Linked DNA regions of Homo sapiens: region 2 is linked to region 1. The links are contacts of gene promoters, found by promoter capture Hi-C in human tissues and cell types (Jung and others, 2019). All regions are on one chromosome and are shown on one strand. Each heading gives the region's core, a stretch centred on a gene start or on the middle of the fragment in contact. The rest is flanking DNA. Distances are from core to core; before and after follow the strand shown. Region 1 holds the start of CRYGS (crystallin gamma S). Region 2 overlaps DGKG (diacylglycerol kinase gamma).

Region 1 (3,183 bases), core at 64-2,563:
TTTCTTGCCAAATATATTTATTCTGAATCTAAACATGAGGAAACAATTAGACAAATCTAGATTGCAAGACTTTCTAAAAGACATCTAACCTAGGCTTTGAAAAATGTCTCAAGAACAACAACAAAAAGGGTAGAGGGACATTTTTAGAGAGGCTAAAAAAAACTAAAGAGAATAAAGAGACATGACAACCAATTACAATACATGTTTTTCACTGGATCCTGTATTAGGGGAAAAGTCCACCATGAAGCACTTTTCTGGGGACAATCAGGGGAGATTTGAATATGGTCTCAATATTAGCTATTATATTTATGATAACTCTTGGGGACATGCTAGTGATACAGTGTTTATACAGGGAAATGCCCTTGTTTTTAGGAGATACATGCCTAAATACTTAAGGCAAAAGTATAATAAAATCTGCTACTAATTTTCAAATGGTTTAATAAAGAGAGATGGAAATAGGAGAGACCAAATATGGCAAAATGTCAACAACTGGAGAATATAAGTGAAAGATATACAAATATTCATTCAACATTTCTTTGCCATTCTTTGAGGATTCAATGGGTTTGAAAATTTTCAAATAGCTGGGGGTAAAAATCAGGCAGCAGTTTTGTCTCATCAGTGGAAGCGCAAAAAAGAAAATGAAAGCATATTCCCTCATTCCCAAAGCCCTACCTGAAAGAATAATTTCCAATCCAGTAATTGTGAGTTAAATATTTTAGAGGCAATTTTCTGACTGTAAGGGAGCACTTTATTTGAGGAACGAGTAAAAATAATTGCTTGAATGGAAGAGAGATGTAGGACTTTATTCACCTGATTGGCCCATCCACTTTGGCCTTTTAGAACACAAATGGTTGAGGCTAAATTTCAGAAAACAAAATTTTAATTGATTATTAAAAGTTTTCTGCTCAATATAATCCCCATTAGCATGCCTTATTCCTATGGAGAATATCAGTTGCATAGAATATTAGTTGCTAGAAGGCAGAAATAATAATGATATTTATAAATTACCTGTATAGTATTTAACATAGCACCATACATAAAGATAAACCCTTAATAAAGTGTTCGGTAATTCTGTTAAGGGTGGAAAATATAATAAGCATTTCTTAATCTTCTCTCTCAATCCCAGTTCTCTAACCACTATCATACTCACCTCTAGGCAAAGAAGCAAAAGCTTTTCTGTGTGTTGAATGCATCATTAGGTGAAAAGCGGGTAGGCTAAAAATCAATATGACTACTTACCTTGGTTCCAGTTTTAGACATTTTTGGTGCATAGACTGGTTTTCCCAGTGCTGAAAGAAATTCAGGAATGGCTACAGAGAGTTAGAGGCACAGTGACATTTATATGGGCTGGTTTCAGTCAAACATTTGCTTAGTCATGAGAATAGGATCCAAAAATTGAGTCAGTCATTTAGACGCTATTGATGGTTTCTAGAAAAAACAACTGGGATTATAAAATAAAGGAAAGCTTCAGTACCGCCTTTAATGCTTACCAAGCAGGGCTGCATTACAGACTTTGCTGAGTCAAGAAACCAAAACCCAGACAAAGTTGTAAAAATTAAGAACAAAAGAGTCTCTCTTTTTTTTTTTAAGCAGCCTCTTTGAAATTCCTAATGTCCTTTTTCTTCAACAAAGCTTGTGAGAGGTAAGAGTCAGAAGACTACCTCTATTTCTGGACAGAAGTGACATGTTCTAAACGCAACAAAACTTACATGACAACTAAATGCAATGCATGATCTTGTGTTTGGGGAAAAAAGTCACTATAAAGACACTGCTGGGACAATCAGAAAACATTTTAATATGGACTGTAAATTAGATAATACTATTGTACCAAAGTTTAACTTCTTGAATTTGATCATTGTACTATGACTAGGTAAGAGTATGTCTGTTTCCAGGACATGTATGCTACCATTTAGAAGAAAGGTTCAAGATGTCTGCAACCTATTCTCAAATTGTTGAGCAAAAATAAAACAATACTATCATGTTGAGTGGTAAAGAGAATGTAGCAAAATGTTAACAACTGGTGAATGGAATCTAGATAAAGGGTATGTTAAAGTTCACTGACTTATTCTTGCAACTATTATTTAATTTTTTTCAAAACACAATTTTTTTTAAAAAAAGAGCTCTAATCCATAAGAAGGGTGCCACCGTATGTAGAAAAGTGACTGTGGGACTCCTGAATTTGCCAAGGGTTAGCTAACTAAACACAACAAGCTACTGGCTAGGTGGTCTTCTTTGCCCACAATACAACATTGGAACATGATCGGAGAACATTTTTTGGCCCTAATACACCTCTGACTTTAGGAATGAGATTGCATCTTATGTAAATACAAAAAAACCCAATAAATTAACTTTTCTCCATTTTTAACTTTAACTGATCAAGTATATTCTCAAAATCAAGTATATTCTCAAAAGTCAAACTTCCTCATCTTTCTGTTAACAAAACTAACAAATATTTTAATAAATGGGATGTATTATGGTCAATTCAGAAAATGGCAAATGTGCCTTAATATAAAGATTATTGAGAAAATATTAAGCTATATGCTTGGTTTTCTGAATTTTATAAAATTTTATAAAACTTTAAAACTTTAAAAAAAGTATCTGAGTACCATTTATTTCATTAACAAATAGCAATATCTAAAATATATTTCTATTACTCCAGTGTTTATTTGGTAATGGTCTGCTCCTTGAATTTCATCTTAAAATAAAAACCATGTAAACTTCAATTAGAATTAAACATTCTGAGGGTTAATTTTTACTTTAGAAATACAAAAGAGTTTTTTGATAGAAATACTAATTAAATGGCCAGAGAGCATATGAACCAATGTTTATCAGCAATCTGATTCATTTCACTCATTTGGTAATTTGGTAATTTCACTCATTTATCTGAAAGAAGGTTTTCCCAAGTAAATGTAAACTTTACTAGTTATTTTGAGAAATGACACTGGAAACCTTTTCTAAAATTAAAACTAAAGATTTATCTTTTACAAAAAAAGGAAATTATTCTTTAGAGTTTGTTTATTGAAAATTTGAAGCAGGAAGTGAAAAATAAAGATTTTTTTAAACAATTTCATTAAGTTCCATACTTTAAGGACTAAAATATAGTATAAAACTATTTCTATGTCTATATACCAACAAATCATACTTCCTTTCCAATTATTTTTTAAAAGGAGTAGCAATTTCCTT
Region 2 (3,157 bases), core at 49-2,548, 250 kb before region 1:
AAAGTAATTTTCTACTGGACAAGGCCCTTAGCGGGATGCAAGAAGATATCACCTCTATTATACAAAAGCAGAAAGCCTCAGGGTTTGGCAAGTAGAGATGAAAATACAATAGGATGAGATAAAGACAGGGATAGTGAGATAGGGGAGGTTGTAATAAAATTACATATTTAATGAAGTATTAAGATTGTCACTGGAGGAAAACATGGGAACAGGCCTTTGTACTGTGTAGTGCATTACACCCAAAGTTATTGCTAGGTCCTCATATTATTCATCAATTAAAACTCTATCAGTGACTTCTACCTTGACTAAAATGGGCTAACAGAGACCAGATTTACCCTCTCACCTAAAACAGTGACAAAACTGGACAAAATGTATGAAACAATGGTTCATAGGACATTATATTATCAGGGAGGACCAAACACTGATCTCTGAGAAGATGAGATGACTCCTACAACTGCCACATCAGACTGTTTGGAAAGAGCTTCTAGGCCGCAGCACAGAGAAGGGGAAGCCAGGCCAACCCTGGAAGTCTCTCTGAGTGGAGGTGAAGCTGGAATCTGGAGCCCACAGTGGCTAGGATTCACAGAGCAGGCACTGGAGAGGAGGGTATGCACAGAGAGCTAGCTCTGAATGTGTGTAGAAGGTCCCCTTTGAGTAACAGCAGAGAGTTCCCTTCAATTATTCAGCTGAGTAGTAATTAGCACACTTGTGGAAGGAAAACACCTAAGGCTAAGGCTGGGGAAAGAACTAGGATTAGAGCGAATAATCCCTGGAGAGAACCAGGAGTAATGCCTATTCCCACCAACCAGGGTAGAAACCCCCCATAATTCGTGAATCATTGATAGAGTATTCAGAAACATTTTTTCTCAGTAGTGAGTAAATGCCTTTCTGGTCCTGTCCAGTGAAGCTTAAAAGATAGATCCAAAAAGATCAGACTGTTTCCAAGTAACCTAACTGTACCTAAAAACAAAGCTCAGGACTTTGTAGGAATGTGAAAATCCAGTACTCAACATTTAGTGAAGAGGCACCATAAATTCTATACAAATTCTTCCAGAAAATTTAAGAGGAGGGAATCCTACGCAACCCTTTTGGTGAGGCCAGCATTACTCTAAAGCCAAAAACAGACAATGACATGATAAGACATGAACATGCAAATCAATATCCCTTATGAACACAGAGGCAAACGTTCTTAATATTTTAGCAAATTGAGGCTCATAATATGTAAAAAGAAATTAAATAAGACCAAATAAACAATTAAGTACATGAAAAGATACTCAACATCATTAAAGCACAAGAATATTTATAACATTTTTATTTATGATAATTATAAATTGGAAGCAATCTAGATGTCCATCAGTAGGTTAACAGACGAACAAATTGTGGAATATCTATGTATTAAAACACTAATCAGCAACTAAAATATGTGAACTATTGATATATACAAAATGGATAAATCTCAAAATTATTACATGGAGTGAAAAAAGGCAGACCCAAAAGAGTAGAGAGTGTATGATAACATTTATATAAAATCTAGACAATGTAATTTAATATATATGGCAGAAAGCAGATCAGTAGTTGTATGGGGATGAAGGGTGGGCGGGTAAGGAGGGTGGAGAAAAGGGATTACAAAGAAAACTTTTAGAGATGATGGGTATGTTCATCATATTAATTGTGGTACTAGTTTTACAGGTATATACGTGTGTCAAAACTTATTAATTATACACTTAAAACATGCAATTTTTTGCCAATTTACAACTCAATCCTTGGATCTTGAACCATTTCTCTAGTTTTCACTGAAGTCTACTGCTCACTCCTGTCATAGAGATGCAGGGGTCCAGGAAGGCTGAGAGGCACTGACACTGTCTCATTAGTGTCCTTCCTCTTCATTCTGCTTTATATGAAATAGCCCTGACCTATGGCCATCTGAGTACGACCCTCAGGTACCACCAGTAAAAAATGCCAACACCCTCTTCCGGATCACAGAGGTCCTGTCCTGGTGCCATGTCCTAAACCCTTTCATGTGACGGCTCTTGGGCAGACCTGACTTGTTCCACTTTCTCCCTTGGTATCTGTGTTACTTGTTCCCTTTCAGTGGGGCAGTGTGGCATAGTGGGAAGAGCACCAGACCAGGCAGCAGAAGACCGTGATTCCACCGCTGAGTTTGTGTTCAGTTGTGTGTGATTTAACACACAAAGTATGTGTGTGTGATTTAACACAAGCAGGCTTACTCCACCACACTCAACCTCAGTTTTCTCATCTGTTTAAAGAGGGGATTGCATTAAAACTGATGTTTACCCAAAGTCTTGAATTACAGAAATCATTCAAGTAAATGACTTAACTAAGTGAAGAACAAAACTGGGTCCCAAGGCCGGGCACGGTGGCTCATACCTGTAATCCCAGCACTTTGGGAGGCCGAGGTGGGTGGATCACCTGAGGTCAGGAGTTGGAGACCAGCCTGGCCAACATGGTGAAACACTGTCTCTACTAAAAATACAAAAATTAGCTGGGCGTGGTGGCGGGTGCCTGTAATCCCAGCTACCCAGGAGGCTGAGGCAGGAGAATCACTTGAACGCGGGAGGCAGAGGTCGGGAGGCAGAGGTTGCAGTGAACTGCGATCGTGCCACTGCACTCCAGCCTGGGCAACAGAGCGAGACTCCATCTCAAAAAAAAAAAGAAGAAACTCGGTCCCAGATTATCTATACAATACAGTCTGATCCCAATTCTGTAAAAAAATTATAGAAAAATCTACAAGGAGATTACACACACACACATGTAATTGCATTGGTAAAATTATGGATGATTTTATTGTGCTTTTTTAAAAACACATTTTTTAGAGCACTGTAAAATTCAGAGTAAAACTAGAAGAGGGTCCAGAGGTTTTTCACACACCCTGCTTCCCTACACATGCATAACCTACCATGCCTCACTCCCCCACCAGAGTGGTACATTTGTTACAGCTGATGAATACATCAACACATCATTATCTCCTGAAGTCTATAATTTGCATTAGGGTTCACTCTTGGTGTTCTACATTCTGTGGGTTTGGGCAAATGTACAATGACATGCATTCACCATTATAGTATACAGAGTAGTTTCGCTGCCCTAAAAATCCTCGGTGCTTTGCCTATTCATCCTTCCCTTCCCCTGACCCTTGACA

The links. Contacts are between HindIII fragments. The study calls those that stand out against the background at their distance.
Region 2: a fragment that was not itself captured here is called in contact with the fragment with the promoter of CRYGS in region 1 in 1 of the 25 tissues and cell types used here (aorta).

The regions. Positions count from the first base shown.
Region 1 is chr3:186,543,067-186,546,249 of GRCh38, forward strand. CRYGS (crystallin gamma S) reads right to left here and starts at 1,314. Exons shown (of 3, transcript NM_017541.4): 1 at 1,240-1,314. The coding sequence starts at 1,260. TBCCD1 (TBCC domain containing 1) reads right to left here. Exons shown (of 8, transcript NM_018138.5): 8 at 3,001-3,183. The HindIII fragment of the contact is 9,271 bases long and covers 1-3,183 here.
Region 2 is chr3:186,290,146-186,293,302 of GRCh38, forward strand. All of the region lies in intron 5 of DGKG (diacylglycerol kinase gamma), which reads right to left. Among named protein-coding and RNA genes, the nearest start is that of DGKG, 71 kb to the right of the region's middle. The HindIII fragment of the contact is 3,776 bases long and covers 1-3,157 here.